2 separate regions of the Homo sapiens genome follow, and region 1 is linked to region 2. Evidence: promoter capture Hi-C in 16 types of primary human blood cells and fetal thymus (Javierre and others, 2016). All regions are on one chromosome and are shown on one strand. Each heading gives the region's core, a stretch centred on a gene start or on the middle of the fragment in contact. The rest is flanking DNA. Distances are from core to core; before and after follow the strand shown. Region 1 holds the start of SNRNP48 (small nuclear ribonucleoprotein U11/U12 subunit 48). Region 2 holds the start of TMEM14B (transmembrane protein 14B).

The links. Contacts are between HindIII fragments. The CHiCAGO score rates a contact against its expected background, and 5 or more counts as called.
Region 1: the fragment with the promoter of SNRNP48 here is called in contact with the fragment with the promoter of TMEM14B in region 2 in 1 of 17 cell types (fetal thymus); the score reaches 5.1 in fetal thymus.

The regions. Positions count from the first base shown.
Region 1 is chr6:7,587,242-7,593,119 of GRCh38, forward strand. It overlaps SNRNP48 (small nuclear ribonucleoprotein U11/U12 subunit 48), which reads left to right and starts at 2,957. Exons shown (of 9, transcript NM_152551.4): 1 at 2,957-3,172. The coding sequence starts at 3,017. RefSeq lists enhancers at 2,714-3,453, 3,032-3,181. The HindIII fragment of the contact is 5,411 bases long and covers 1,725-5,878 here.
Region 2 is chr6:10,745,221-10,751,091 of GRCh38, forward strand. TMEM14B (transmembrane protein 14B) reads left to right here and starts at 2,585. Exons shown (of 6, transcript NM_030969.5): 1 at 2,585-2,661; 2 at 3,982-4,048; 3 at 4,402-4,478. The coding sequence starts at 4,026. It overlaps TMEM14B-DT (TMEM14B divergent transcript), which reads right to left and starts at 2,364. Exons shown (of 2, transcript NR_187231.1): 1 at 2,241-2,364. RefSeq lists an enhancer at 2,145-2,194 and silencers at 2,315-2,544, 2,379-2,599, 2,555-2,614. The HindIII fragment of the contact is 12,296 bases long and covers 1-5,871 here.

The sequences.
Region 1 (5,878 bases), core at 1,707-4,206, 3.2 Mb before region 2:
ACTTTCAAATGTCAGCAGTATATATTAATACAAATTTTATAGTACAGATAGAAAATAGGAAAACATGCTAATTGTATAGAACAAAAATCAAGATTAGATTAATTATTGGGGGCTTTTGGTACTTAGGGTGAAAGTCACCTCCATTCTCATTGCATGGGCTATTTTTCCTCCACAGCACTCTTTTCTTCCTTATTTCACCTCTTCTTCCTTACTCCCTCTCCTAATTTGGAGGAGTTGAAATTAATTTTATGCATTAAATACTGAGTTCGCGTGCCATGCATTGTGCCAGAAGCCATGGAGTCTGTGCTAGAAATACATGGTGAAAAAGAGCCCTCATAATCCAAAAGGAAGAAGAAAATGTGGTAAATGCTGTATTGGGAAAAATGAAGGAAATTCCTTATGCTAGAGCTGGGAGACTATATTAGTCACCTCACCCTGCCATAACAAGATGCCACAGACTGTGAGCGGCTTAAACGGAAGTGTATTTTCTCACAGTTCTGGAAGCTAAAAGTACAAGCTCAAGATGCAGGCAGGGCTGGTTTCTAGTGAAACCTGGCTCATGGGTGGCTATCAGTCTTATCTGATTAGAGTACCCACCCCTCCTTTATGACCTCATTTAACTTTAATTACCTCTTAGGGCTCTATCTCCTTATACAGTCACATTGTGGGTTGGTACTTCAACATAGGCATTTTTGAGGGACTCAATCCAATCCATAACAGAGGCCTAGCCTAGAACAGGAGTCTGGAGACCACTCCAGGAAAGTGATATCAAAACAGATCAGCAGCATCAGTGTAGAGCAGTTCCTCGGGCTGAAACAGTAACTAGAGAGTACAGTCAATTGACAAATCTTTCCTACTCCCTCCAGGCTTGTGCCAATGTTGTCATGAAGCTCTGAGATGACATGGGGCTGTATCCTGAAGAGAGGATATGTTTGACGTGGGCTAAGTTTTAATTTGGTTCACATATACAAACAGGGAAATATACACTAGAACTTTTTATCAGGAGTCATGTCACATCAGAAATAGTCTCACATTTTTCCAGACCAACCAGCTAACTATGGAAATGCAAATAAAAAGTAAGGATACCGGGCTGGGCGCGGTGGCTCACGTCTGTAATCCCAGCACTTTGGGAGGCTGAGGCGAGCAGATCACAAGGTCAGGAGTTCGAGACCAGCCTGGCCAATATGGTGAAACCCCATCTCTATTAAAAATAGAAAAATTAGCAGGGTGTGGTGGCATGTGCCTGTAGTCCCAGCTACTCGGGAGGCTGTGGCAGAAGAATTGCTTGAACCCGGGAGATGGAGGTTGCAGTGAGCTGAGATTGCGCCACTGCACTCCAGCCTGGGTGGCAGAGCCAGACTCCGTCTCAAAAAAAAAAAAAAAAAGATACTGTAGGCAGAGTATGAATACATTAACTTCATACTCCTCTCTTACCAGCTTCTAGCCACTTCTGTATTTTATGGTGCTGCCTATTTATAGTCTTATGACTATTTTTTTAAGTGAGAACCGTGCTATTTGCCTTTAGAAATAATTGTTCACCAAAAAATTCCCCCACAGTTCCTTCACATGGGTAAACAAAGTGCAAAAGGAAACCAAGGTTTGACACTTGGGCTTGAAAAAATTTTAAAAAGTAATATAAAATGGGTTAGATTCTAGGAGTTGAAACCATTTGGGGAAACTACAAGGGCTAATTCCAGGTGTTGGGTAGGAAATGTACAAAGTTAAGCTTGTGTTATCAAAGCAAGAAAGCATTCAAGGACTAATAGGGATACATGAAAGACACAGATGGCTTAATGTGGCTTCCACTGGCCACATTTGGGACAATTTGAGCATCAACAAGAATTATGATGTTAAAGGAGTATATTATATTGAATTAAAAAAAAACCTTAAATCAATAACTTTAAAAACACCTTGATTCCCATAGTGAAGCAAACACTAAAATGGAGGTGTGGAAAGAATGCCAGTTAATAAACATAAAAGGCATGATACTATTGCGGAATCACTTATAACTCCTAATGTAACAACAGATTCAGTGAAGGACTGTATCAAGGAGTTGGGGAACAGGTTATTCTTATGGACTCAAGGTATAATCCACAGATTGCTTACCAATTCCTAAGAGGAAAATGTACTATTAGAATGAAGAGATGTAGCCACCACCTTTACCAAGTGATCAAATTTAGCATTACTAATATAACTGAGTTATGCGTCCCCGTGAGTTGGCAACATCTCTTAGGTAGTATTGCAAAAGTGCTCAAACTGAATCTAATCATGAGGGAAACAAAATCTGACAAATCCAGAATGAGAGAGATTCTACAAGACAACTGGCCTAGGCTCATCACAACATGTAATGATTTAATAATTTAAAAAGGAGGGTGAAGGAGGCTGATCTGGATTAAAAGAGACAATAACTAATTATAGCTTATGAGTTGAAAAAATAAAACTGCTATAGAAATAATTTTGGGGACAATGGGGAAATTTGAATATGAACTGTATAATAAATGATTTTATGGACTTACTAATTTTCTTAGGTTTGATCATGTATTGCGGTTACACAGGAAAATGTTCTTATTCTTAGAACATGCATGCTAACATATTTGGGGGTGAAAAATCTGCAACTTACTTTCAAAGAATTCAGCAAAAATCATTGGGTGGGGCTGTGAATGTGGAGAGAAGAGACGGAGAGAAATCAAACCTGGCAAAATGTTAACAATGAGCTGAAGGACGGCTAAACGAAAGCTCATTGTACTATTTTTAAAACTTTTCTGTAGCTATAAGCCGTTTTTTCTGAGGAAGTCGAGGAGGGCGAATATCTTTCTGGAAAGGCCAGAGCAAATGCACGCAAGAGCTGAGAAAAGATTGGAAAACGCCTCTCAAAATAACAGTCCCGCCCTTCCCGGGACTCTTCCCTATAGGCTGTTCAAGTCACGTGGCGACTGTGGCCCCGCCCACAGCTCCCAGAGGCCTGCGCGTGCGGTCTGCAGTTCGGCCGCTTCCTCTTGGCGGGTGGGCTGCAGCTATGGAGGGCGAGCCTCCACCTGTGGAGGAGCGGCGGCGGCTGCAGGAGGAGCTGAACGAGTTCGTGGAGAGCGGCTGCCGGACGTTGGAGGAGGTGACCGCGTCCCTGGGCTGGGACCTAGATAGTCTGGATCCCGGGGAAGAGGAGGCGGCGGAGGTGAGGAGCGCGGCCGCGGGGCCCTTTCGGGGACTATCGGCCCGGGGTCTTCTCTGGAAGAAGGGAGATCCGCACTGGCAGCCGCGGAGGGAAGGGCGAGGAGTCCTCGTCCGTGTGCAGAGCCGCGATGGGCGCCTGGGACCCGAGGGGCGCCGGGGGCCCTGGAGCAACCCTGACGTCCCTGGGTTCCGGGCTGGGGCGCGCGAGGAACTCCCGAAGGCTCCACATCGACCTCCAGTGCGGCGCTCCTCCCGCGCAACTTCGAGTTTAAAGAAAACCGGGGGCCGGGCGCGGTGGCGCACGCCTGTAATCCTAGCACTTTGAGAGGCCAAGGCGGGAGGATCCCTTGAGCCCAGGAGTTCCAGACTAGCCTGGGCAACATGGTGAAACCTCTTCTCTACCAAAAGTACAAAAATTAGCCGGGTGTGGTGGTGTGAGCCTGTGGCCCCAGCTATTTGGGAGGCTGGGGTGGAAGGATAGCTTGAGCCCAGGAGGTCGAGGCTGCAGTGAGCCGAGATCGCTCCACTGCATTCCAGCCTGGGCGACAGAGCAAGACCCTGTCTCAAAAAACAAACAAACAAAATCCAGGAAGGTGTGTTGAGTGAGGAGGGAATGGCAGATTTGGTATTTATTTAGAAAATAAGTGAACGTGTCTCAGAGCGCTGCAGAGGGATTGGCGGTTTGCATTGTCATCTGTCATACGGATTCCGCAGTTGCACCAGATTCGGTGTCAGGAGAGCTGGGAGTTTGCCAGTTCGCCTTTCTGTGCCTTAAAATTGGACACTTCTGACTGGGACAGCACCAATTCTAGGATTATTAAAGGTTGTCACCAAGAGGTGGTAACTGGCAACTCCTGTGGACATTAGAATTGCTTTTTTAAAAATGTAGGCAAGTGTATTTAGAGTGAACATTCGTGATTTTTGTTTTTTTGTGGGGTATTTTCGGTGGAATGAGAGGAAGGGAAGTGCTCCAATGTGGGGTAATTCATTATCTTTACTATTACTTCTGGGTTTACCATGCTGTGATAATTTCTCCTGGGTTTAAGTTACATGACTGATTCCTCAGAGGCATTTAAAATATATTTGATTTCTGTATATACCATTCATTGTTTATTGTATTAAAAGCACAGAGGAAATTAAAAAATCTTTAATATTCATTTAGAGGGGTATTTGAAGCTGGGAATTCCACTGAGTGGGGCTTACCAGACCCTTCCATACATTGTTTACTCAGCATTGCGGTAACATTGGATTCCTTGTATTAACGTTTAAATAGCACTTTGTTTGCCACTTACATTACTTCATTTAATACTCAAAATAACCCTATGAGGTAGGTATCTTTGGCCACATTTTATAGACGAGGAAAGGAACACAGAAGTGATAATTTGTCGAAGGATACACTGCTAGTAAATGGCAGTTAGGATTTCCGCCGGTGTTTTAGTACTGAAATTTAGTGAACAACAGTCCTAGTTGTCATCTGTTCCTAGTTGTCACCTAGTTCCTAGTCCTCACAGAGCTAGTCCTAGTTGTCACCTAGTTCCTAGTCCTAGTTGTCACCTAGTTCCTAGTCCTCACAGAGCTTATTGTCTGGTGGTGATGAGGGGTAATACGGATAACTGAACCATTATATTATCATGGGTCTGTGATGGGTGGGGTTGGAATTGCTATAGTACAGTTTATTGTAGGCGGTGGTGGACAAAGTGGTGGTCAGCAAAGGCTTCCTGGACAAAGTGAATTCTAAGCTGATAAATAAAAGTGAGTTGAATTGGCTAGGGGGTTGGCGGGTGCGGGGAAGAAGCATCAACAGCATGTGTAGAAGTTCAGAGACAGGGAGTGACCAGATCGGGAAGCCTCAAGTAGTTAAGGATAGCTAGAGCATAGAGTGTAGAGTTAGAGTAGAATGGTGATGGTGGGTAGAGGTCAGATCTTAAAGGTCCTTGTCAGCCATATTAGAAAGTCTAGATTTTTTTTTTTTTTTTTAATGAAGGCAGTGGGGAGGTATGGAATTATTTTAAGCCAGGGCATATTATAATCACATTTACCTTTTAATAAAATAATAGCATACATTTATTGAATGCTTGCTATGTACCAGGCCCTATTTGAATTCCTTTATGTGTATAAACTTTGGTATACTTTTTTAAATCTTCACAATCACTTTGTGAGAGAGGTCCTGCTATTATTTTTATTTTATATAATAGAAAATGAGGCAAAGAGAGATTAAGTACCTCACCCAGTTTCATGCAGCCAGTAAGTGGCAGAGATGGAATTCAAACCAGCTACAGGATGGAAACTGAAGGGGAGGGCAGCAAGACTGGAAGCAGAGAGAGAGAGCAAGAGTGAGAGAGAGCGAGCGAGCGTAGTCAGGAGATGGTGTTGTATTCCAGGAGAGAGTTGATGATACCCTGAGTTGGGGAAGTGGCAGTGGGGATGGAGGATGTTGAGGGATTTTCAGAAATATTTAGGAGTTAAATTGGCAGGACTAGGTGATTGATTGGACGTGGGTGATGAGGGAGAAGTAGTTTCTTGCTTGAGCAAGGGGGACCTTTCACTGAAATAGAAAAGTACAAAAGGAATAGATTTGAGGGTTGGGAGATGATGAATATAATTAATTTATTTTTGTTTGTGTTGAACTTTTAGTGTCTTTAATATACGGTACTGGAGAGAAACAAGGTTTAAAGATCTAAATTTTGGGAGTCCTCACTGTATAGTG
Region 2 (5,871 bases), core at 1,335-3,834:
AATCAGGTGATTAGGGAAGGTCTCTCTGAGAAGTGACATTTGCGTAAAGACAGAAAGGAGGAGAGGGCGTGAACCAGGAGATTGTCTGGGGAGGCGTTCCAGGCAGATGAAGCAGCTGAGGGCAAGAAGGAAACACAAGTGAGGGGGAAAGAGAAGATGCTGATGTCAGGGAGGAGGATGTGTGGGGCTTTGCAAAGCACTGCCTGAGAAAAGGGGTGCCACCAGAGGGTTTTGGGGAGAGAAATGGCACAGTCAGACTTCTAACCCAAGTGCTCTGGTCACTGTGTTGAGAACAGACTAAGAGACAGAAAAAAGACTCTTCACTGCAAGAAACAAATGCAGAGTTAGGACAGCTCTGCCATTTGCTGTGTGACCTTGTAGTCTGTGCCTCAATTTCTTCCATGTGTAAAGCAGGAGATAATCATAGTCGTCACTGCACAGAGTTGGTATGAAGTGTAAGTTAGTTAACATATGTAAAGCGCTTCCAACAGTGGCAGATAATAAGAACTGCATATGCTTCTGCTAATATTTTTATGGCTCCAATGAATATGATCCAGAAGTAGATGGCAGATAGGTTAGGTTAAGAAAATAGGCGGTTTTTTTTTTATGATTTCATTTATTTCTTGGGGAAAGAGTTATTGACCTTGCTCTTCAAACAAACCTATAAAATACTCCCAAAGATGTAGAAATTGGTATTGTAGACACTTGATAGACATGAATTACCTGGGCAGACTGCAACTTGGGATTTGTTTTTGACGTTTTTGTTCAGGGACTTCTTAATTTGTAAAGTCAACACATTCAGGCTCCAAAAATGCTAAACTAATGCTTACATTGAAGCTCAATTCCCTTTCTTCATGAGCTCTTGTGTTGTGGGAGATGATCTCTACTGCTCTTGCTGTGTGAGTACACACCTGTGTGTGTACCTGTGTTTGTCTACCAGACACAATTCTTACTCAAAGCCTCTTTGTGGGAAAAACAAAACAAAACACCCAAACCTACTGATAGGCCTCAGTGACCAAAGACTAGAAACTTAACATTCCCTGACATAATTTTGATTACACCCTTTTGACACATTTGTGTTCCAGGGTTCCGATAATTCAGTGGGCCCCCAGTGAAGAGCTAAGCTATCTCCTAACAACGTTAATGCCAACTAGAAATATTCCCAAACACAAATCATTGATTGTTTTACTCTGGTACTAATTGAAATAGAGCAGAAACCAATTTCTTTAATTTATTTTATGACATGTTTTGATGGACTTTACCTACACAGAAGAGCTATGTGTTCTGGTTGAGGAACGACACTGCAAGAAGCAGCATATGGTAGAATTAAGGACGCAGGCTTTGACATTAGACCTTACTTTAAATAATAGCTCTACCAGTGACCAGGACTGTAGGTAATTTAATTCTCTGAGGTTCAGCCTCTTCAAGTATAAGGTGGGGAAGGGCTCGAGGATCATGGTGGATGATCCTAATTAAGGTTTGAGGCTTGCACCTGCATAGGGAAGAATGAGTCCCTAAAGCCATTCCCTGCTGGTTAAGACAAGTCTCATTAATTGTTCAGGAAAGTCTTCAATTAAATTGAAGGTCTGGCATACTGCAATTCCTGCAAGTTCTTAGTTATTATCAGCTCTGGCTGGTTAGAAGCAGCTATGATAAACACGGGCTTCAATTTAGCTATCTGGAAGGTAGGTGCTGCTGCAAGTGGAAAGTTTGTCTTTAAGAATATGCGCTGCAATTTGCTTTATTCACTGATGATTATATTGATCGGAGTTGTCTATGTTGATACTTGTAGGGGATGAAGGAGAGGGAGAAGTCAACGATGACAGCAAATTTTAGTGTAGAGCAACTGAGCGAATGGTGGTGCAGGAAACACAGAAGAGGAGCGGCTCGGAAGTGGGAATGGAGATAACATCATACTGTGGACATTCGGAATCCACAGAGCTGCGTGGAAATCAGATTTAACTTGCTCTCTCTCCCCATTTAAGATGCTTCTCAAGTAGCCTCACTCCCTAAAACAAACGGATATTTGGCATTGCGCCACATTATTCTGCAGCTGCCATATTTTCTTGCAGGTGGAAGGCAGGCCCTTCCTGGTGTAAACAAACAAGATCGGGCCAGAGTGACAATCCTCCCTGATGGCCCGCACCTGGTTTATACCCTCTATTAATGGGGTCCTTCAAAATCATCAGATGCCCTCCTCCCGCAGCGGTGGCCTCCACCTCTGGCCTGGCCCAGCTTACGTGGTCCAGCTTGTGCAAGATCCAATTCCAACTCCGGGTTTCCGGCTTTTGGCCACTCAGGATTGGACCTGGGACTGGAGCTGGTCGGCCCTGCAGGTGCTGGGCCTGGGGACTGAGGAAGCACAGAGATTCCCCGCCCGGTTCCCCGCCAACGGCGCTAGCCGCGATGCCCCGCCTCACTCCCCGCCCCCGGGATGCAGGGCGCGTGCTGGTAATCCGCGGCTCAAGCCCCGCCCCCACTGTCCCCATTCTCCGCTCACCTCTCTCCAAGGACACTGCGCACGCGCCACGACGTCCCGCCTTTCTCCCCGCCCTGCCGCGGCCCCGGGGCGCAGCGCGCACGCAATCGCGTTTCCGGAGAGACCTGGCTGCTGTGTCCCGCGGCTTGCGCTCCGTAGTGGACTCCGCGGGCCTTCGGCAGGTCGGTGCAGGTCTTTGGAGAGTATTGTTTTTATTTTCTGCCACTTTTAACTTTTAGGGATTATTTAGGAGTTTCACGGCCGTCTGCTTTTCGTCCCCCCGATTCAGCGGGCCTTTATGCCGTGTGGTCGGTGCTTTTCTCCTTGGGTATTTTCTGCTTGTCTTAAAAGAGGCTGTGGATGCTCGGAGCACCTGAGCTCCTGAGGCAAAGGCTTACCCTTGTAGCATAGTGTTGCCTCGTTTCCTGGTGGTTTTGTTGCTCCAGCTCTTTAAAAGCCTCCCTTACTCAGTGCCGCCTCGAGTTAAGAACTGTGGGCAAGATCCCAAGCCCGCTGCCCTTCCCCGTTTTATGGGAAATTAATTCTTTCTTTTTTTGGGGGGTGGGGAGGGGTTCTCGCTGTGTCGCCCAGCCTGGAGTGCAGTAGCCTGAATATGTCTTATTGCAGCCTCTGCCTCCTGGGCTCAAGCCATCCTCCCACCTCAGCCTCCCAAGTAGCTGGGATTACAGGTGCATGCCATCATGCCCGATTTGTGTGTGTGTGTGTGTGTTTTAATAGAATATGGGTTTCACCATGTTGACCAAGCTGTTCTCGAACTCCTAACCTCAGGTAATCCGCCTGCCTGGGCCTCCCAAAGTACTGGGATTACAGGCGTGAGCCACTTTGCCTGGCCTAATTCTTTAAACAGAATAAACGGCGTATGCATTGCTTTCCATCTTGTTAGGTTCACTGCATACAGAATACTTTTCTGTAAGAAAATAGGAGCTGTTTTTCCAAGGGTGCAATGTCACATGTGATTCTGACTTGAGTTTCCGTGTATTTTACCCTCCCCTTCTGCCCTCCTAACGAGAACTGTGAGTTGGATGCAGAAGTTTCTAAAAAAAAAAATTGAGTATTGAAATTGGCTGTTGCATCAGTGAAGAAAAGCAACATCCCTACCACCCCTCAAAAGAGACATTAAAGTAGTTGGATTAAGGGCACGGGAGTATTTGCTTTCCGATTTAGTGATAATGTGAGTGCTTAATGAAATGACTAACACATTCCCTGATTATAGAGCTGGTCAGTGGATCTTGCTGAGTTTCCTGTGGACCTATGTGAAATGATCGGCATCTGTTCAGGGTTTACTAGGTGCTAAGCACCTTTACATGTGACATCCATTGAATGCTCACAACACCCCCAGGAAATTGGTACCAGTGTTATCCTCATGGTACAGTGAAGGATACTGAGACTTAGGTTGCATAGCCTGCAGGTTGGACACACTTCTTTCTGACTGCTGGGGAGCTGTGCTTTTAACCACTGCTGATCCGGCTTGTTTTCCCCAGATGCAGGCCTGGGGTAGTCTCCTTTCTGGACTGAGAAGAGAAGAATGGAGAAGCCCCTCTTCCCATTGTGAGTAGACAGTAAATGGTTAGAGAGTAGCCAGGAGCTTCTGGAAACCAGAGTTCCTTTCCTCAGCTGAAAAGAACCCTAAGAGTAGACTGCCTGGGATGGCGTGCGGGATGGGAGGATCACTGGACCTGTGGGCCAGAAACTTGGGTTTGAGTCCCAGCTCTAGCTTTGCTTAGTTGTGTGACTCTCAGAAAGTCATCCAACCTCTGTGGTGCTTATTTTCAGTGATAGTACCTGTGGGCACATAGGACCTGTGGGGAATGATTACCTTTTAGCCCCATCCTATGACAATATGGTTTGTTTTTAAATCCAGGTTAGCACTGACTTCTCACTGACTTCTCTTGTGTTTTCAGAGTGCCTTTGCATTGGTTTGGCTTTGGCTACACAGCACTGGTTGTTTCTGGTGGGATCGTTGGCTATGTAAAAACAGGTAGGGTTTTGTTGTTACTTAGCCTCTTAACATCTTCACGTTGTTCCAGTGAAATGTGAGTGCCTGTGTCCCTGAGAAGCAATCTCGTTTGACTCAGCTTTGCTGTAGGTCCCCAAGCTGGAGTGCAGGCTTCCTTGTCAGTCTTGCAGCTCCTGCCCTTGCCTTTTGCTTATCTGGTGAAGCTGAGCCAGGCCTCTTGTGGAATTACTTATTTTTGCCTCTTTATCTAAAGGTAGGCAGGGGTGGTTGTAGTTTGTTATTATCATTGACTGCCATTCATCAGCCATGACCCCCAAGTGCCATCTCTGGGCTTAAGTAGGAGTCAACCTCTGGCCTACACAGACTGGTATTTTGAAGTTTCCTCATTAGGCCAGGCAGGGGTGTGTCAGTGGCTGTGCTTGTTTTTGCCCCCTAGTCCTTGCCTGCATTCCCACCCCAATCCCTGCACCAGACTTCTTATTCTCCTGATCTTCTATTTTTTTTTTAACTGCCTGGCCCTATTTCCTTCTGCTTTTGTGATTTGCTGGAGGTCCTGCCTGTACACAATTCCAGCCCTTCATGGTTGATGAGGCCTGATTAGAAAGTGTTGTACTTGAGCGAGTTAGAGAAAACGCCACACTTTGAGACGAATTAAGAGTCTGTTTATTTAGCTGGGGCCTAAAAGACGGCTAACACTCAAAGTTCTCTCGGCCTTGAAGAAGGGGCTAGATTTTCTTTTATACTTTGGTTTAGAATGGGGTGGGGGGGGGGTCTAGTTAAAACAATTTTACTGAAGTAAAGTAGGCAAAAAAGTTAAAAGGATAAATGGTTACAGGAAAGTAAACAGTTCCAGGTGCAGGGGCTTTAAGACTATTACAAGGTGATGGACGCGGGGCTTTGGGCATTATCAATCGGACGAATTCCTGGGAACTGCGGATATAGCTCGCCACAGTATCTTATCAGTTAATTGCATTCTTGGATGTGCTGGGAGTCAGCTTGCACAAGTTAAGTCCTTGAGGACGGGGCTGCCAGTGAAAGAGCCAAGATGGAGTCTGTCTGGCTCTCTTAGCTAAGGAAGAGTCAATTCAGGTGGAAACAAGGCTAGGTGATTAAAGGAAAGGGAGAGTCTAAAAACAGGGTTAGTAAAAACAAGGTTAGGCATTACAAAAGAAGGCCTAGTCATAGTTCTGTCTAAGGAGGGAAGATGGCCTTCTTTCCTTTCCTTAGATGGAAGTGCCCTGCCTATTAGAGGAGAGAAAAATGGGGTGGGAAGACCCTGACTTCTCTGAGAAGATAGCACACTCTCCTTAACGCCTTCCTGCTTGAGTCCACCTTGGCTGTGAGCTGTGTTGAGAGTTCTTTGTGCTGTCCTTTGTAGGGCAGGAGGTCTGGTGGATTCCGTTAGTGAAATAAG